Linked DNA regions of Homo sapiens: all the other regions are linked to region 4. Evidence: promoter capture Hi-C in 16 types of primary human blood cells and fetal thymus (Javierre and others, 2016). All regions are on one chromosome and are shown on one strand. Each heading gives the region's core, a stretch centred on a gene start or on the middle of the fragment in contact. The rest is flanking DNA. Distances are from core to core; before and after follow the strand shown.

Region 1 (5,566 bases), core at 2,906-5,405, 630 kb after region 4:
AATGACGGAGTTTCCTACTTCATTTCCAAATGCGTTCCAGTAACTTTAGGGAATCAATGTTGACATTAATATGCATAAGTTTAATTTTGGATTTATACATATTCACATGTTAAAGAAAACCTGAAGCTCAGTGAATGAAAAATTGCAGAGAAAAAGCAGTAAAGTCAACTAATCTTGTTTTTAATTAGCGTTCTTTCAGTCATTAGCCTCTCTTCTGTGTTCCCACATTCAGTAGGTCTCTATCTTAACACTTGGAAATAACAACAGCAGTAGTAACAGTAATAACAGCAAACATTTTTTGGATGCTTACAGTGTATAAAGCATTGGGCTAAACAGTTTATCATTTAATTATAATAATATCCCTATAAGGGAACTAGTATTATTATTATTATTATTATCCTCATTTTACAAATGAAGAAATTGAATTTCTCTAAGTTAGTATTACAATGTTACAGTGTATCATGTATTTCTCTTCTTCTCTTTTTTCTTCCTCCAAGACTGTGAGCTTTTTAAAAAAGAAATCTAGTCTTGTTCATCTTTGTATCTCATATATATAGCATGTTGCAAGAACCCAAAAGTGGGCAGAAAGATGAGTTCAAGAGCCTCTGCTCTATATCTGAATATAAATGCTTATTATGTCAAGTTTGATTCTAGAAGTGTTCTAATAATGCATGCCACAACCTAGGTGTTAAGGGTATTGGGAGACAAGATAAAATCATCAGGCCAATACTAATTTTTATGTGGAAATGCTAGAAAAAGTGATCATAATATTATAGAAGCCATTCATTCTTTGCATAAAAACTTGAACATTTTTAATTATGAAAAATATTCAGATATCTAAGATAGACAGATATTCACCTTTTAGAGATCTCAGTGCATGCAGTAAAATCCAATAAGGTACCTAAAAGGCAATATGGTTTAACATAAATGATAAAACTGTACTTGCCACTAGATGAAGGGATTTTCAGTTTTTCCAGAGCCGAATTTCTGAGTCTAAGTGGCAAGAAACAGACTGGGTCTGAACGGTCTCATTGTACTTTCACAGTCAAATTACTGAATAATAAAATCTCACATGACCAGCAATAAAAGTAAATGTTCCCAGCTAATCCATTTAAATTGAGTAGATATTCAGGGATCTCACACCTAATACCTGCTAAATACATATCACACATGTTTAGCTGCCCCTATCCACAAAAGTATATGACCATTATTGAAACTGGTCTCAAGACCAATCTCTGCCATTTCCCTCCCTTTTACCAGCTTTTTCTTATTTCCATTAGGAAAATGAATCTATAAGAGAAATTTAGGAAGAGGGAATTTAATATATAAAAGTAAATTTTTCAATAGCCACAAAATTGCATAACACCATTAACCTCAAATATTTATTTTTGAAGGTTGATATTTTAATCTCTTCCATTTTCCTCAACTATCTTCTCATTAGGCAGCAATCTGGTTAATATGAAAATAACACATTTCATATGTATATTACAGTTTATAAATTACTTTCATATTAACTTATTTGATCTTCACAAAAAATGCTTTAAGGTAATCTAAACAGAAAGTATTATTTTGATTTTATGGATGAGAAAATAACTATCCAAAAAGATTACATAACACACAGCTCATAAGTGCTTAAGCCAGGACTGGAATAAAGACTGAAATTTTAGATTTCTAGCTCTACATCAGTTTGTTTGTACTTCAACAAGCTACATCTTGAAAATAAGTACACAAGAGAGGACTGGAAAATCTGTCTACAAATAATAGTTAAAAAAAGGCCAACTTAATATTCTTCACTACAGTCAGACAATAAACCTTGAATTTTAACAATTTATAATAGATGTAAAACAATAATTACAAAGAAATATTGTAGGTAAGTATTAACAGTGCCTTTCATCTATAGAACATACAGTAATTTATATTTCTCTCAATATTCTGAGCAAAGCAGGTGACAGTTTTATTAAAAGTTCAAATCTATTGTTAGACATATGTATGTAATGTATAGAAATACCAGTTTAGAGTTTAGAAGAAACAGGCACCATGGTATACTGCTAGCAGAGTATTCACTGGCAAAACTATTTTGGGAGTAGTCTGGCAATGTATATTGAAAGCCTAAAAATGCACATGACCTCTCGCACCTAGTTATTTCCTTTTTAATTTATTGTAAGGAAATAATTATGGATGTCTATAAAAATGTGTTCGCAAAAATATGTTAGTATTGTGTTAACAGAACAAATTAATAAATGGATTGGTTAAATCAGAGTAAATGAAAGAATAAAACGTAGAGCTGTCCCTCAGTATTTGCAGGGGATTGGTTCCAGGACTCCTACAGATACCAGAATCCTTAGACGCTCAAGTCCCTTACATACAATGATATAGCATTTGCATATAACCTATGCATATCCTCCAGTATATTTTAATTCATCTCTAAATTACTTACAACACGTAATACAATGCAAATGCTATGTAAATACTTGTTATAGTGCTTTGTTTTTATTTGTATTTTTTATCATTGTATTGTTATTTTTTTTTTTCAAATATTTTCAATCCTCAATTGGTTGAATCTGGATGCAGAACCCATGGCTACCCAGGGCTGGCTGTAGTTCTTAAAACTGATCTGGAAAAATGCAAAAGATATATTAAGTGGGATAAAACAGATTTCTAAACAATGAATATAATAGAATCATATTTTAAAGGATATGTATCTCTGTGTGTGTGTGTATATATGTATGAGTATATATGTGACCAGGATATTACACAAAAATATTAATAGCGATTGTATACAGGCAGTGTTATTATAGATAAATGTAATTTTATTACTTTTACTTTTATATTTTCTCATTTCTAAAAATGACTAAGTAATTTTCCTATATTTCTACAACAGAATAAGTTAAATATCTTTATAAACATATATAAAACATATATAGCATATATATGTATCATGTAAATATTGAAACTATGGAAAACAAAGGATAAAAGTTGAATTTACATCTATCAGAGAGCTCTAGAGCCATTATGTGTGCATATGAAGATACATTTTAAAGAGTATAGAAATATGAAGAAGGCACAGCACATAAGATGAGTCAGGAGAGAGAACAACAGCAACTTATTAAGGCAAAGTGTCCAGTATCAGAAAATAAATGTGAATTAAGCAGTACATTTTAATAGCTACAGTTTCTCACATCTAATTAACAGAAAGTTTTAAATATTGACAACTTTGGAAGTGAAGAAGTTTAGGCAGTTTTTGAAAAAAATGTGAATACAAAGTTCATTGGGAATGCTGGAGATACTTCTGGAAAGTAAGATACTTCAATCATATGCTATAGCAGCATCAAGAAAGGTACTAGGTGAAGATCACAGCAGCAAACATAACTCCCATGTTGAAACTATAATGCATACCCATCTGGAATATGTAGCTCTGCTCGCCACACCTTAGAGTAGATATTATAGAAACAAAAAATAAGTCCAGAAATGGGAAAATAAATTATGAAATGGCAACTATAAGGGATGAAATTAGGAGTCTCTGAAGTTCAAAGACAAAAGAAGCTCAGAAAAATATTTCCCAAAGCTTATAAGATCATAAATTTTACAGATAAGATAAAAATAAGCACCAAGAGACCAAATTAATATGGCAAAAGTTTAAGGCAAATCCAAGGAAAATAAAATATTTTGATGGAATAGGTAAAATATATAAGATGTATAATACTACTGCATTTAGAATAAAATCCAAAATCCCTCCCAAGTTCCATAAGTCTCAGTATTCCTGGCTCCTTCCTGCCTCTCAGATCTCTTCTCCTCCAGCTGTCCTCTCATTCCCTAGGCCCCAGCCACACTATCTCCCTCCTGTTCCTCTAATGCACCTCTGTGCTCACTATTGACTCTGCCTGGAATGCTCTTCTCCTAGGTTTCACCTGGCAAGCTGCTTTCTATCATTGACATCTCAGCTTAAAAGTCACATCCTCATGAGGACCGTCCCTGATTGTCCTACTCAAGGCTACTTGCTCTTGGAACCAACCAATATTGCATTACTTAGTTTAATTTTCCTCATAGTACTTATCATCATATGAGGTCATCATTCGTTTATTTATTCATGTAAACTGTTTTTCTCTCAAACTAAGGAAAAAAACAATTAAAGAGTTTTATCATCAAAGAGACTTTCCCTCACCACCCCAGGCTAGTTCAGATCACTCTATTTTATTACTAACTTCCACCTCACCTTGTCATTTTTCTTTTGTAATCCAACTTATACTTGTAATTTATTTTCCAATATCTGTTTTTCTCCATAAATTCCATGAGTTAGGGGCCACTGTGTGCTATCTTATTAATCAATGTATACCCACCAGTTACCAGTATATGGAAAGTACTCAATAAATACTTTCTCGAATAGAAGAATAACTGGTGAATGAGAAAGAATTGGGAATAAAAAGGCAGAAAAAGGAAAGCAAAAATAAATAAAAAGCTACATGAAAAAAATTATGGCATTATATTAACCACTTACTATTCCGTTCTCCAAATACCACTGTTTCCTACTAAACAAGAATATAACAGGCTCTAAACTGCATTTGTAATACAATATATAGGAAAATAAACTTTTAAGAGTTTCATATCTGCAATTTATGCCCTGTGCTTTCTGATTCACTTTTTGTAAATAAAATCCTGTGGATCTTTGGAACTGCAATTCTTCCAAATCAGCAATTCAAGTAACAAAAGGAATTCTGGATGACTAAAAAGCAGATGCTGTCTGGGTGCCAAGCTTCATGCCTATAATCCCAGCAGTTTGGAAGGCCGAGGCAGGCGGATGACCTGAGATCAGGAGTTTGAGACTAGCCTGGCCAAAATGGCGAAACCCCGTCTCTACTAAAAATACAAAAGTTAGCCAGGCGTGGTGGCATGCGCCAGTAGTCCCAGCTACTCGGGAGGCTGGGGCACAAGAATTGCTTGAACCCAGGAGGCAGAGGTTGCAGTGAGTGGAAATCGCGCCACTGCACTCCACAGCCGGGTCGACAGAACAAAACTCTGTCTAAAAAAAAAAAAAGGCAGGTGCTAAAAACAAAACCAGAAAAGCTATTAGGAGAAACGTCATAAAGTTGGAAACTGAAAAGCATTTCATTTCATGGAATAAAATTTTGTTCTTCAGTAATTATGAAACTGTCTTTGAAAACTCTGTTAAAAACAACTTTGACTCATGCCTGTAATCCCAGCACTTGGGGAAGCCGAGGCAAGTGGATCACTTGAGGTCAGGAGCTCGAGACCAGCCTGGCCAACATGGTGAAACCCTGTCTCCACTAAAAACACAAAAATTAGCCAGGCATGGTGGCACATGCCTGTAATCCAAGTTACTCACAAGGTGGAGGCAGGAGAATCGCTTGAACCCAGGAGGCAGAGGTTGCAGTGACCCGAGATCACACCACTGCACTCCAGCCAGGGTGATAGAGTGAGACTGTGTCTCAAAAATAAATAAATACATAAACAAACAAACAACTTTGAGACATTTTACTTCAAAGGTTTAGATTAGTTCTTATGGAACATAGCTAATAATCTTTAAAGTCCTTTATTACACTAACAGTTC
Region 2 (5,679 bases), core at 1,579-4,078, 590 kb after region 4:
AGACAGCCTAAGTAAAATTAATACTTAATATTTTGATCTACATCTATCTCCTGTGTTAGTTCTTCATCAGTTAGTAATTTGGAGGGAAGAATGGAGACTAACTGAGCTCAAGAGATGACAAGAAGCTGTTTTAAGGAGGAATGTAAAAGATAAAAAAGAGAAGAGAAATAAGAGAGATCTATGAAGGAGACAAGTAAATTGGTAAGATTAGGTCCCCATGTGGATTTAGGGATAAAATACATATGGAACTCAAGGACAGCCACCAATTTTGTAAGTATGTAATTAGGTGAATATTGTGTTAGTGCATACAGAAGTAGGTTTTTCAATGAAAGAGAATTAATTTAATTTTGAATTTGTCAATTAATTCAATTTTGGATTTTTAAGTTCCTGTGAAAAATCTACATGGAAACGTTCAGGAAAAAGCTTAAACATATGGTTTTACAGCTGGGGTGATGACATAAATTTGGAAAGCAACACATTGTTGAAGTCATGGAGTACATAGAATCCCCTGGGAGAGTATATAGAATGAGAAAAAAAGGGCCATGAACAGAACCCTGGGGAATACCAGGAGTCTTTTTTGCCTCTGAGAAGGAATGACTCTGAGAAAAAATAGCCAGAGAGATAGAGATGGAAGCAGCGGTGGGGGTAGCGGTGGTGAAGTGCCATAACAACCAGGGGAAGACAGAATAATAATTTTTAAAGTATTCTAAACTTAATTTATTCCAGTTGGGATGGAAGAACAGAAGAGGTACATTTTTTGTATTTATTAAAATTAAATTTAATTTAATTTTAATTTTAATTTTAATTTTAATTTAATTTTTAAATTTAATTTTAATTAAAATTAAAATGTCTTTTAAGTCATTCATACATTATGATATCCCAATACTGTAATCCTGCTAAACTATATAATACCTGAACACTGAAGTTGTTTCAAACTTGATATAGCCAAGATTTTATGACATTTCCTTCCAATGAAATTTCTTCAAACATATATCTGATGATACTGCCAAATCTTCACATAGAAAAAACGTATAGTTCATATGAGTCAAATTCTAATATTAGAAAATGTATGTTCATCCATAAGAATTGTTAAACTACATAAGTCTAGAAAACATATAAAGTATTATTTCAGTACCTTTTAAAAAATTATCAATTAAGCAAATGCTTGGAATTTTTGGGCTGTATTTAAAAATTCAAAAGGTGATTTAGTTCAAAAGGTTATTTAGGTCAATCTCCCTACCTCCAGGGAGAAGTATTCTTAAGCCCCTTCCAAGCACAGGTCTCATCTAAAATACGGCTTGTTTTTTTATCCATATACCATTTCAGTACATCTCCAAGAGGACAGGAAAATGCATACTGTGACTGAGTTCCTGCTGTGATGGAGCCTCAAATAACTTGGGCTTAGACCTTGGGATCAAAGATTATACACACAGTTGACTTCATAATTTTTCTTCTGAAAAACAGGGGGGTCTTCCTTTCACTGAAAGTTAATAGATGGGCACAAGAATTTCATGTATTTAACATCTACTATAATGTTGTTCACCCAACCTACTGATGCCTTTCTCCCTTTAATTTGATTAGATGGCTTGCTTTCTGGCTGAGACTCAAAAGGAATGAGGATTGCTCAATGTAAATATGTGGCTCAGTACTTAAAATTAATGGATTTTTAAATAGGATACTAGCATTATTTTTCATTGATTTTTATAAACTTCTTACTAAAGATATAAGCTATCAAAGTAAACATTTAATACCTCACTTATCACATGGGGAATAGCTGTCTATTCATATAAAATTCCTCTATCATTCATACACATGCATACATATACATATTGACTCATCATATGAAAACTTTAATTATTTCTGGTTTGAGGTAATAAATTTTTAGAAAGACACAAATTGTATCGTGTCTCCAAATCTAAACAACAATCATAAAGCACCAATTAATTACTAGCTAAAATTAAAATCAAAGACTGACTCATTGACAACTTGTAACCTTTATCCATTTGATTAGAGGATCTTTATAAAGAGAGGATAAAAATGTGAATCAAATGTCAGATTTCTACAGTCAAAGGGAATTGGAAAGCTGAAGCTAGTTCATGAGTTAAGCTGAATTATATTAAATTATCTGGATAACTGCTCCCCAATTAGCTGATAGGCTCCATGGGGATCAATTTCACTCATCCTCCTCACTACAGGCTTTACTATAGAAAGAAAAGAGTTGAAAATGTAATTGGTTCAAAAATTTTTCTCAACACTATACAAAACTGAGAACTAGACTAAATCGGTTGTTACATAGAAGGTGTTTCTGTGGAACGCTGATAGACATACACACATATTTCCATATGCTTACTTTTTGCCATTTAAATAAAACAATAAATTTTTGAAACTCTTCGGTTTGGAAGAAGTTTATTTAAATCACCCAAATGGTTGTTGGATTTACTAACCCATATGCAATTAAGAAAGAATAAGAAGAGAAAATGGTGAATCAATTTGAGTCAGTAAAATATATACTACATATATTTTCATTTTCATTAACTATATAAAGCCCAAATACTTCAAATTTGTTTTTACATTAAAATAGAATTCTTCTGTTCATCCTGTTTTAAAATCAGTCCCATTCAACAGTATTTGCCAGCATATTAATTAGAGGTTTAGTAGAAAGAGAATGAATTTTAGGGAAAAACAAAACACGGTTTTCTGGTTTCCCTTTACTTTCTAGCTGTGTTACTGTGGACAAGTTACTTACCCATTCTATAAAATAGATTTAACAACATTCACTTCAGTCAAATCATAGTTAAAATACATAAATTATAATTTTTATGGTTGTTATTTTATTTTTCTTAGGTCAGACTGTTAACCCTGACTCCCTAACTCACTTATTTTGCTAGTTTAAATAAAAATTTAAAGCAGTCTTCCAGCCTGGGCAAGAAGGCCAAACTCCATCTCTAGCAAAATACCAAAAAATTAGCCAGGAATAGTGGTGCATGGCTGTAGTTCCAGCTACCTGGGAGGCTTAGATGGGAGGATCACTTGAGCATGGGAAGTCAAGGGTGCAGTGGGCTATGATCATGCCACTTCACTTCAGCCTGGGTGACAGAGCCAGACCCCACCTCAAAAATAACAATAATTAAATAAAATAAAGTAGTCTTGAACTGAGGTGTATGTAAAGTGCATATCATAGTGTCTGGCACATAGTATGTGCTCCATAAATGAATGCTACACATATTTATGAGTTTTAAATAAAGGAATTATGGTTGGCATTTCTTTAATCCCAAAGACTTTTACATAAGATCTCATAACATTAAAAGATTCCTATTTATTTATCTAATACCTGAAATTTCTGTCCTATTTCAAAGAGAGTCTTTGGTCTTCCTTTTTAATGAGGCATGCACCACCCCTCTGATCCATCACCATTTGTGTACTAACACCCACACTAAGAATCCAATCACCTCAAGAGCTATAAAGTGCTTATACAGAAAGACTATGGAAGTCACAGAAAGAGATATCATATTACTATAAGAGTGACTCAGACGTTAGGCAATCAGCTAGTCATTTGAGTAGTAGATCTCAAAAAATAGTTTGATTGATTTGTTTTCCCTATTGAATTAAATCATTTTTGGAGCCTTTTATACATATAGCCTTAACTTCTACAAATAATCCCTATTTTAATTACAGCACCAATCACTCTACAGGAAAAAAAAACTCCCCAAACCATACAAAGTATAAGCTACAGAAATTAAAGCCAAGAAAGATGACAAAGGAATTAAAATTTCACTTCAAATATAATTAATTCTAGTCTCAGAAAGTTGAAATTCATAAATGTAGAGACTGAAAATTAAAATGTCATCTTGCTAATACTGAAAATCAGTATTCAGAAGGAAAACATCAAAAATCCTTGTTTTCTTGTTTTCTATAAGTCTAATTTTCAGCTGTATCTACAAGTTGTTCTTTCTCTTCCATTTTTTTTCTTAGCCCCTTTTACAGATGACTGTATCTCTTCTAAATCAAAACTGAGAAAAAGAATGATGAATGCAGCTTTGACAAACAATAGAGAGAAGAACAGGGACACATGTGGAGGCACCATGTCACAGTTTCTCTCACAGAAAGAGCCACATGCAGTGGGAGGAAGATAGGGAGGCGGGGATGCCAGCCAGTGGGAAACTCTTCCTTTAGACATACCGTACCTCCAGACATTTCGATGACATAAATTTATTCATTCATATATTTAACAAACTTTTGTGGGTCACACTCTGTGAATAATTTACTGTTTGAGGTATCACTACAACAGTTTTTAGGGATACAGTTATGAATAAGATACATCAGTCTCCCTGTATCATAATTTCTTTATATGGTTTCTTTTTTTTTTCCTTTTTACAACACTCACATTGTCATTTTTCAATTGATCCGTTGGTCAACATCTATTAGATATAAATATATATATATATATCTGTTAACAAAACTTGACAATAGGCAGCATTAGTTACAAACAATCTAGGCAAAAACCTCCTGGTCAACTAGATCAAAGATCATCATTTGAAAACAGGGAGAAAGTGGAAAAAGGAAAGAATAGATCATAGATTTTAAATTGTGATTCATTAATTCGTTCAGCTAATACAGACAAGGTGCTTGCAATGTGGATGGAGATGTGCTAAGTGCCACAGGAGACATAAACATGAATTAAGTCAGATGAGACATGCACAACTATGGTATTATCAATTTTTTTTTAAATTGAAAAAAAGAAAAAGAATGAAGACAACCATTTTCCAGGTCCTATCCATCCTCATATGGTTACATACTCCCAGTCTTGATTCAGATTGACTTTGAACCCAAAGTTAGAGCATGTAAAAAGATTATATAATTGTTTTCTTACTTTTCTTTCCTACTGCCCAGCTGGCGAGCTGTATATTGATCCCCATAGTCAATTAATACCAGTTGTCGAGAAAAGACATTCACTTTGTTGCCTATAAATAAATCTTCCAAGTGCAGGTTATCATATTTGGTCCGCTTTAAAAAGGTGCGATGATTCTTTACATCATGCTAGAACCAGACACAACAATATAACAAACAAACAAAAAAAGTTATGAATAAGGAAAGTTAATCTCATCATAAGGTAGAAATAATTCTTAATTCTGTCTTATCAAAGATAGGTTATATTCTGTTTCTTTTTTGTTACAAATATAAATCATAATTTTTAATAACTTCCATATTTCCTAATCCAATCTGGTAATAACATAAAAGCTTCTTATTACAAATTTAATACTCTTAAAAACCTGAATAGAAAGATTTGTTTATTACCAAATCATTTCAGCAAAGTAGTCCTTACAAAATGCTAAAGAAAGAGTCATACACCCAAATTTCTGCTTTCTTGTGTACACAAAATCCCAATACCAAAAAGATCTACTTGTTAAAATTGTGTTGCCAGTGAAAGAACACAAAGAAACAGAAGTCTCTTAGCTTGAGCCTCTTCAATTTGACTTTTTGTAGCAATAACAGCTTTCAATAATGAGGACGTATTTATGACCATAATAATCCTTATCTATAATCACTTGTTTATTTCTTATCCAAAACATGAATAATCCCATTTCAGTCTTTTTTTTTTTTTTTTTTTTTTTTTTGAGACAAGAGTCTCATGCAGTCGCCCAGGCAGGACAGGCAGGAGTGCAGTGGCGTGATCTCAGC
Region 3 (5,146 bases), core at 351-2,850, 560 kb after region 4:
CCTCCTTCCGGCAACCTTTGTTCCCCCAAAGTTATGGTTATTTGGGTACTTATCTTCCATCAAATCATAAATTTGAAAAAGAGGGAACTAAGTTGTATAGCTCTGTAGGACCCCTAGCACCTAAAACAATGTCTGGCTCAATGCAAATAGCCCTTGGTATACACAAGGGATTGGTACTCAAATCCCTGTGTGTACTCAAATCCATGCATGCTCAAGTCCTGCAGTCAGCCCTGTGGAACCTGCTTATAGGAAAAGTCAAATCTCTGTAGATGTGAGTTTCACCTCTTGCAAATACTGCATTTTCAATCCTTCTGTTGAAAAAAATCCACATATAAGTAGACTCGTGCAGTTCAAACCTGTGTTGTTTATGGATCAACTGTATTTATTTTTCATTAAATTTAAAATGAAAAGATTATAGAATGTGTTAATGTGCCACACTGATGAGCATTTTTTTAAACACAAGGATGATGAGGAATTATTCAAATAGTAGTGTATACACCTGAGCATTTCCAGTGGTAAGACACTAGAATAAAAAGTGTTCTATTCCTAAGATACCAACTGCCTTTCTATCATATTGCTGCCATTATTTATTATTCTTTTTAATCAATAACAACAGCAACTACCCCTTTTAGTCCTATACCAGATGCTTTGATTGCATGGTCCGAGAGAACCTTTATGGTACAGATGAAAATTCAAATACCTACAGGGACCTGGCAGATGATCAATGAAGGAATGAAGTAGAAGTGGTGTGACAAGAGAATATGATAGAGTAGCAAACTAGAAAGGGCATGCTCTTTCGAGAGTTCCCATTGGTCTGTTCCCTTCACAACAAAATTCAAAAGAAATGTCTTTCTTTTCCATTTCCATTTTTACTTCCTCTCCTACAGTCTCTTTTAAATCCACAACCAATTAGGTTTTCATTCCACCAAAGCTGCTCATTAAAATCCCTTACTACCTCCATGTTGCTAAGTCCACTGGTTAATTATTCTCAGCCCTCACCTTACCTGACCAACAGTATTTGACACAGTTTGTCACATCCTACACTCTGGAATGCTTTCATTACTTGCCTTTCTTCCTACCTCACTGGCTACTCCCTCTCAGTCTCCTTCGATGGTTTTCTCCTATCTAGCTGACCTCTATGTGTTGGAGAGCACCAGGGCTTAGTCCATCTTTATTACTTGTTCACTAGCAGTTTCTCAATGAATATTTGGGAATGACTGAAATTCAGCACCTAATAAATTCTGCATGTGCTAAACAAAATAAATATATCCACAGTGTACAAATGAGAAAAATGAGACTCAGAAAGCTTAAGTAACAAGCCCTTACAAGTTAGCAAGTGGCAAAGCCAGGATTCAAATCCAAGTGACTGTAGCTCCAAAAACCATGTACTTTTTCTATTATCTGTCTTTCCAAAGTAAAAAGCAGTGATAAATTGTTCTGTCTCTAGTTTAACAAATTATTTAACAATTAATTGACCAATTATTTTTGTCTCAACTTTCCTTTGATTTCTTTTCTCGCTCAATTTTTAAAAATAAAAATGCCAGCTTTCCAACTACCCAGATTTTCAAGTACCATATTTACCTATGCTGAATAAATATTTATTTATAAAGCATAAAGATTTTACATAAATATATCTTCTTAGTGAAACGTGAATAAGAGCGCTTTTACTAGGTCATTGTTATGGCAATTAATTCAAAGTCTTTATAAAACAAAGTCACAAAAATAATATCCAGGCTTCTTTGGGATTTGAGGGGCTAAAATATTTTGTATAAAGATCCTGTTCTTCCAAAGATTCCTGCTATTACTCTTGGCCTTTTACATTTTCCTAAATTCCCTAGTAGGAAAGAATAAATATTTATAGCTTTACAAAAAATTAAAAATTCAGACTGAATTCGAAAGCTTTAGGTATATAATTTTTAAATTTTTAAACAAATTATAAAGTATATAGTTGTACTACTTCATAAATTTTCACGCTGATAGGATTTCCTGGTAATTTCACTAAAGCATTTGTAATTAATCTATACTAATAATTTTATTATGATAATAAAAGTATGGCTAAATGGTGGCCAGTTAAAAGTTTCTCCAAAACTTTGTACTTGTAATAGTAATTTAAAATGAATATCATTTCTGTAAATGTCCCAAATTAAAACAGTATAGATCAATGGAACAGAACAGAGGCCTCACAAGTAAAGGCACACATCTCCAACCATCTGATCTTTGACAAACCTGACAAAAACAAGCAATGGTGAAAGGATTCCCTATTTAATAAATGGTATTGGGAAAACTGGCTAGCCATATGCAGAAAACAGAAACTGGACCCCTTCCTTTCATCTTATACAAAAATTAACTCAAGATGGATAAAGACATAAATGTAAGACCTAAAACCATAAAAACTCTAGAAGAAAACCTCAGCAATATCATTCAGGATATAGGCATAGGCAAAGACTTCATGACTAAAAGACCAAAAGCAATGGCAACAAAAGCCAAAATTGACAAATGCGATCTAATTAAACTAAAAAGCTTCTGCATAGCAAAAGAGAAATTATCATCAGAGTGAACAGGCAACCTATAGAATGGGAGAAAATTTTTGCAATCTGTTCATCTGACAAAGGGCTACTGTCCAGAATCTACAAGGAACTTAAACACATTTACAAGAAAAAAACAAACAGCCCCATCAAAAAGTGGGCAAAGTATATGAACAGACACTTCTCAAATGAAGACATTTATGCAGCCAACATATGAAAAAAAGCTCATCACTGGTCATTAGAGAAATGCAAATCAAAACCACAATGAGATACCATCTCATGCCAGTTAGAATGATGATCATTAAAAAATCAGGAAACAACAGATGCTGGAGAGGATGTGGAGAAATAGAAACGCTTTTACACTGTTGGTGAGAGTGTAAATTAGTTCAACCTTTGTGGAAGACAGTGTGGTAATTCCTCAAGGATCTAGAACCAGAAATAGCATTTGACCCAGCAATCCCATTTCTGGATATACACCCAAAGGATTATAAACCATTCTGTTGTAAAGACACATGCACACGTATGTTTATTGCAGCACTATTCACAATAGCAAAGACTTGGAACCAACCCAAATGCCCATCAGTGATAGACTGGATAAAGAAAATGGGGCACATATACAGCATAGAATACTATGCAACCATAAAAATGGATGAGTTCATGTCCTTTGCATGGACATGGATGAAGCTGGAAACCATCATTCTCAGCAAACTAACACAGGAAGAGAAAACCAAACACTGTATGTTCTCACTCATATGTGGGAGTTGAACAATGAGAACACAAGGAGGGGAACATCACACACCGTGGCATGTTGCGGGGTGGGGGGCTAGGGGAAGGATAGCATTGGGAGAAATACCTAATGTAGATGATGGGGTGATGGGTGCAGCAAACCACCATGGCACGTGTATACCTACATAATAAACCTGCACGTTACGCACATGTATCCCAGAACTTAAAGTATAATAATAATAATAATAATAATAAAAAGAAATAGACACAGCCACTTCAACCTTTGGCAAAAACAACCCTGATCAATCAGCAGACATCAACATCAAAGTAAGATCAGCAAAAAGATTATGACTCGCTGAAGGCTCAGATGATTGTTAGCATGCATTTTTTAGCAATGAAGTATTTTTAATTGATATATTCATAGTTTTTTTTAGACACAATGCTATTGCATTTAGTAGCCTACAGTATAAACATAACTTTTATATACCAGGAAACTAAAAAATTCATGGGACTCCCTATATAGCCATATTCACTCCACTGTGGTGGTCTGAACCAAATCTACATTATCTCTGAGGTATGCTTGTAGATGAATAGAACACAACAAATCGCTGAAATTGACCCAGATATATATATTCAATACATTTTCAACAAAGGTGCAAAAGCAATTAATTAAAGAAATAAGGTCTTTTCAGCATAATGCTGGAAGAATATATGTCTAAAGAATAACAAATTGTGATCATACCTTGCACCTTACATAAAAATTAACTCAAAATGCATCATAGAGTTAAGTATAAAAACTAAAACTATAAAACTTCTAGAAGCAAATAATGAAATATTGGTGACCTTAGGTGTGGGAACAGTTTGTTAGACTTGACACCTAAAGCACAATACATTAAAGAACAACTGATACTGGACTTCATCAGAAGTAAAAATTGCTCATCCAAAGATATTGTTAAAGAGGATGAAAATGCAAACCACATACCATGAGAAAATACTTGCAAATCATATCTCTGGATAAAGAATTTGTATGCATAATATAAAGAACTCTGAGCTGAGTGTTAAAAGGCAAATAAAAATTACCTGGGCAAAGGCAGAATTGGAATTCCAAGGCAGAGGGGTAGAATGAGTAAAAGCAACAGAGTAAGAATCCCACAGTATACAGAAGGTGAGGCAGGATATAAGGCTGGAGGAGGGGCTGGGAGACAGATCACTGGAACGCCTTGGAAACCATGTCAAGGAGCTTGAACTTGATTCTGGGAATAATGGAGTACTTTAAAAATTTTTAATAGTCATGAGATTGACGGATTAATATTTTTAGACAACTTGTTCTGAAGCCTATGTGGAAGATATATTTGAGGTAGAAAAGTATATTCCAGGACTCTTGCAGCAGCCCAGGTCAGAACTAGAAGAGTGATGGTAGGAATACAGAGAAAGGGAATAATTCAAGAAAATGTTCAGAAGGAAAAACCTACAAGATCTTTTGCTGATTCTATTAAGGGGATAAACAGGGCAGAAGAAAGAATACTGGCTCCCAAATTTCTTTCCTAGAGATGTACAGAATACAAAAGGAATACTTTGGTAAATTATAATCAGTGCAGGCTGGGCATGATGGCTTATGCCTGTAATCCCAGCATTTTGGGAGGCCAAGAAGGAGGCTCACTGGAGACCAGGAGTTTGAGACCAGACTGGGCAATATCACAAGACCCTGTCTTTAGAAAAAATAAAAAAAAATAGCTGGACATGGTGGTACAGGCCTGTAGTCCTAGCTACTTGGGAGGCTGAGGCAAGTGGATGGCTTGAGCCCATGGGTTCAAAGTTATAGAGAACTATTATCACACCAACCACTGAACTCCAGCTTGGGCAGCAGAGTGAGACTCTTGTCTCCAAAAAAAAAA
Region 4 (4,981 bases), core at 1,937-4,436:
TAATCATTTTTAAAAGTGCTTCCAGGGTAATTCGTGTCAGTCCTGGGGCAGCTGGATCTTATTGTAAAGAAGTTGTTTTGCATGTTTGTGAGTTTTCAACCCTGTGATTAGTAGACGGGGAGAAGGAGGCAACAGAGGGTGGAAGGAGGAAAGGAAACCAAAATTACTAGACACTGCACACCCAAAAATGCCGAGTAAGAGGAGGTGGAAGAGGTATCTCGCCTATCAGCTTTTCCCTTGACTCCCATGGGCCAAATAAAATCATGTTATTTCACCTTCTTCCTCTTTTGCTTTTCTTCAAATAGTTTGGGAGTTCATGACAAACCAGTCACAGTTGGCAAGTTTAAAACTAAACATCATTTGGCTTCTCTCTCTAGCAGGGATGAACACAAAGATCAACAGAATGCAAGAAAAAGCCAAGAGTGTTTTCAGGGGTGAGCCACAGCTCTGTGGAGCCTTCAGAGATCATGCAGCCTGACTGCTCACTTTCCAAATGAGGCGGGAGACTGGAGGGCTGAGCGTCTGGGCCAAGGTCACACCACAAGTCATTAGAACCAGGATCCAGACCCAGGCCTCCTGATTCAGAGCCTAGGGCTCTTCCTCTATGGCTTGGGGAACCATGGCTGAGTGCTGCTTGACTGTGGCACAAAAAACGGCTGTTAGAAAGGAGTCGCACCCATGCGATAGTGCTCCTGAGAGGTGAGGACTGGAGGGACAGTTGTAATTAGGTCATTGCCATGCTCCACATTAGGCAGTGGGCCTGGCTGTGAGGAGTCATGGAGACAACAATCAAGGTGAGCCTGGTCTCTGAATCAGCATCTGTCAGAAGGGGTTTTGAATAACTAAATCTGCTCACCAGAGGCCATGGGGGTGGATGAGAATGGCCCACAAAGGCTGTCCAAGCAGCCTCCACAGCCCCGGCACCCTCACCTGCTGCTGCCTGTGTGAGTCCTCTCCCCACCCCTTCTACAGTCCGGCTGAGCCCCTCCACAGTCCTGGTAACCAAGTAGGGATCATCCCTCTGGGGCTGGGCTTCTGCTGTGGTCTTGCAGGTCCCCACCCTCTCCAGGAGGAAGAACTGCCCTGAATCTGGTCCTGTGGCACTGGCTCTGCTGACAGAGTCAGCTGTCGGGTGGGAGCCCACTCTGGGTGGAGGCAGCAGCCTCTCAGGAGCCCGTCACTGTGGCAAAGTACAAACTCTTTGAAGCAAAGACTCTGTGGATCCAAACCCCAGCTTTCTAGCCGAGGAAATACTGGATCTCTAGACTGCAGTTTGTCTACCTATAAATGGGATATACCCTTGTTTTGAGCATTACACGAGATGATCCACATAAAGCACTTAGCATGGAGCCTGCTCAGGGTAAGCACTCAATAAATGGTAGCTGTTGTCATTACTTAAAGGCCCGCTCTCTTTCCTGGCTCCCCCACCCATCGGTGTTTCTTCCTCTTGGATTTCCCATCATCACCTCTCTACTGGTTGTGTCCCCCAGGGTTCTATGCTTTTTCTTTTTTCTATTTTCTTTTTTTTTTTTTTTTGAGGCAGAGTCTTGCTCTGCCACCCAGGAGGGAATACAGTGGTGCGAGCATGGCTCACTGCAGCCTCGACTCCCTGGGCTCAAGTGATCCTCCTACCTTAGCCTCCTGAGTAGCTGGGACCACAGGCTGCATGCAACTACACCGGGCTAATTTTTTTTTTTCTGTAGAGATAGGGTCTGGCTGTGTTCCCTAGGCTGGTCTCGAACTCTTGATCTCAAGTGATCCTCCCTCCCCAGCCTCCCAAAGTGTTTGGGATTACAGGCGTGAGCCACCACACCTGGCCAGATTTTGTGCTTGACCCCTCCAATCCCCACTACACTAAGTACTTGTTGCCACACATCTGGGTTGCTCTACAGATAGCACATGCAGCAGCCCTCCAGGTGGGCTTCCTCCTCCCTGGACTGCCTCCTCCGTTCTCTCCTCCAAGCCTCCTAGAGTGCTGGCTCCATCTAGGCTGTTGTAAATAATCAGCCTAGCAGTCAGTGCCTACTAGGATGAGCTCCTGACCAAGCACCTGGGCTGAGACCCAGCTGAGACAATCACACCCCACAAAAAAGTACAAGCTCGAAAAAATTCCATGCCACTGCTTAAGGCAGAATGCAGTCAGGGGAAGACAGCACCTCTCTCCAAAACCCTTTAGTAAACTATTTTCCAGCAATAAAACCCACTTTAAATTCAGGCAGAGAGAAGGACCTCAGTACTCATAATTGAGAGAGCACATTTAATCAAGGCAGTAGACAGCTATTTAATTCCACTTTCTTTTGCCTAAATGTCCTTGTCCCCTCTTTTCCATTCACTTGCTCTAAATCAATAGTTCTCAAACCCTCCGTGCTGAGAGATCAATTGTTTATTTTTCTTGTTCCCAAACTACTGTGGGCCAGTACTTTTGTAAAATGGTAAAAATAAATTTCTAAAAAAGAAAAATGCCATTCCGATGGCACAGAAAGTTTTAATTTCTATAAAGTTTATTACTTTCAGTTTCTGTACATATCTTTTGGTAGTCTGGTAAGCAAGCTTCTCGCCGACCTACACCAGCCCCTGGCCCAAACTGAGAGTAGGTAGAACAGCTTCTGGAAGGAACAGAGCCACAGAGGAGTCTGTCTCCCACAGACACTCCCCATCCCAGGTTTTTGTCCTGTCATGTAGTCCGCTCAGCAGCAGCCCTGCTCCACCCAGAGCATGCAGTGGTGAGGTTTGGGGTGGGATTTGCCCAGGCTTTGGTTACTGATATTCCTTGAGAGTCTAGCAGCCCCCAGGAGGAGGGATATGCAGAGATGTTCCCAGCCCCAGTGCAGTGCAGGGACTGGCCCTTACCATTCCATGCCAGCCCTGTTGATCTCCTCCCACCAGCACTCCGTGGGTTCCCCGAGGCTCTGTGGCGTGGGCATGCAGGCGTAGTTCCATTGTCTGTCAGAACCTTCCTTCTTGCTGAAGATGCTCCTCACGGCCACTATCACCTGCCCCTGGGGACACTGGTAGCTGAAGCCTTGCCGGTTCAAATTCACCCACCCATCATCGCTGTAGTCATGATACTGCTGGTATGGGTATCCATAATCGCCATACTGGCCCCAGGCCATGGTGACTAGGGGCAGAAGTACCCAGAGAAGACTGAGGTCCATGCTGCCTGGGATTTTGGCAAACAATGTCACTCTAAGATTGCTGGTCTGACCGTTTTATATAGCTGCCGCTGACATGTGGCTTCCAGATGTGGGTGAGAAGGATCCAACTGCAGTGTGTCATTGCTTAAGCAAAACTTTTCCATGCTGAGATGTCAGCCATAAGGACATTCAGCTTGTTTTAAGGTGGAATTCTAGGAATATACCAGCAGCATGTAAGTCTAAGAAGCTCCCTGGAGAAAGAACAACTTTGTATCTAGATTATAAAAGCCAACTGCTGCTCTACCCTGTAGAAATATTCACTTGAAAAACACTGATTAGTAGCATATTTGTCCCTCACCTTTCAGCACCTCACCCCTTTCTGTCCTACCCTACCCGCTACTAGCAAACCCCTGTATTTGTTCTCCAAACTAGCCTTCCGGGCCACACAAATACCCAGACAGTGATTTCAAAATACCGAAATCATAGACTGAAGTAACAGAGCCATCTAGGATTTCTGTAAGGCTGAATGCCTGTTTTTTTTTTTAAGTTGTCAATCCAACACTTTTTAACCCTTGAGTATAAGCGCGGGTATACCAGTTTGCAGGGCTACTCTGAGAACTCATAAGTTGCATAAGGAAGTACTATGGGCCCATGGGGAGATAAGTTGGATATGATTTCTACACTTAAGCATTCTACCATGCTGCTGAAATTGGACCCAGTCAAGTCTAGAAAGTGTGCTCTGCTCTCAAAATGTAATGGGTTTAATCTAAATAAACCCCCTATTTATCCTTCAGTATTTTTGCCCTCACATTGAATTTTCTTTTCATTGAGTTATAATTTACATATAATTAATTCACCTTTTAAAATACATAATGTACAGTAACATAGCCAGCACCCTAATCAAGACTTAGAACAGTTCCATCAATCCAAAACATCCCCTTATATCCCTTTGCAGTCAAATCTTCCCAAACACCCAGCCATTGGTAACCACTGATTTACTTTCTGTCTCTATGGTTTTGCCTTTTCCAGAATGTCAAGTAAATGGAATCATACCACACGTAGCCTTTCATGTCCATCTTTCACTTAGCATAATGCTTTTAAGGTTCATCCATTTTAAAATTCAACATCTCATTGTATGTGTTAGTATTTTGTTTCTTGTTATTGTTGAGTAATATTCCATAGCATGGATGTACCACAGATTGTTTATACATTTACTAGTTGAAAGACATTTGGGTTGTTTCCAGTTTTTGAAAATTCATTACTTTTTATGTAATGAATTTTATATTCATTATATTTTATATAATGAATTACATAAATGTAATTATAAAGTTGATATAAACATCTATGTATAGGTTTTTGTGTGAACAAATTTTTATTTCATTTGGGTCAATACCTAGGAGTGAGATTGCTGGTTCACAAGGTAATGTATGTTTAACTTTAAAAGAAACTACTGAGGCCGGGTGTGGTGGCTCATGCTTGTAATCCCAGCACTTTAGGAGGCCGAGGCGGGCGGATCACGAGGTCAGGAGATCGAGACCATCCTGGCTAACATGGTGAAACCCCGCCTCTACTAAAAATACAAAAAATTAGCCAGGCTTAGTGGCGGGCGCCTGTAGTCCCAGCTACTCGGGAGGCTGAGACAGGAGAATGGCGTGAACCCGAGAAGCGGAGCTTGCAGTGAGCCGAGATTGTGCCACTGCACTCCAGCCTGGGCTACAGAGCGAGACTCCGTCTCAAAAAAACAAAAAAAAGAAAGCAAGAAACTACCTAGCTGATTTCCAAAGTGGTGATACCATTGCCCACCACTACCAGAAAATTGCCATTAAAAAATTTTAGCTATTCAAATA

The links. The method cuts DNA at HindIII sites, captures the fragments that hold promoters and counts their contacts. A CHiCAGO score of 5 or more calls a contact.
Region 1: a contact is called between a fragment that was not itself captured here and the fragment with the promoter of DPT in region 4, in 1 of 17 cell types (M0 macrophages). The highest score is 7.5, in M0 macrophages.
Region 2: a contact is called between a fragment that was not itself captured here and the fragment with the promoter of DPT in region 4, in 3 of 17 cell types (M2 macrophages, activated CD4 T cells and naive CD4 T cells). The highest score is 6.7, in M2 macrophages.
Region 3: a fragment that was not itself captured here is called in contact with the fragment with the promoter of DPT in region 4 in 1 of 17 cell types (M2 macrophages); the score reaches 6.3 in M2 macrophages.

What each region holds. Positions count from the first base shown.
Region 1 is chr1:169,356,762-169,362,327 of GRCh38, forward strand. The region is part of intron 1 of NME7 (NME/NM23 family member 7); the gene reads right to left. Among named protein-coding and RNA genes, the nearest start is that of NME7, 8.3 kb to the right of the region's middle. The HindIII fragment of the contact is 1,185 bases long and covers 3,564-4,748 here.
Region 2 is chr1:169,318,247-169,323,925 of GRCh38, forward strand. It overlaps NME7 (NME/NM23 family member 7), which reads right to left. Exons shown (of 12, transcript NM_013330.5): 3 at 4,871-5,037. Among named protein-coding and RNA genes, the nearest start is that of NME7, 47 kb to the right of the region's middle. The HindIII fragment of the contact is 4,815 bases long and covers 422-5,236 here.
Region 3 is chr1:169,288,166-169,293,311 of GRCh38, forward strand. The region is part of intron 6 of NME7 (NME/NM23 family member 7); the gene reads right to left. Among named protein-coding and RNA genes, the nearest start is that of NME7, 77 kb to the right of the region's middle. The HindIII fragment of the contact is 593 bases long and covers 1,305-1,897 here.
Region 4 is chr1:168,726,020-168,731,000 of GRCh38, forward strand. It overlaps DPT (dermatopontin), which reads right to left and starts at 3,187. Exons shown (of 4, transcript NM_001937.5): 1 at 2,851-3,187. The coding sequence starts at 3,155. The HindIII fragment of the contact is 3,243 bases long and covers 2,549-4,981 here.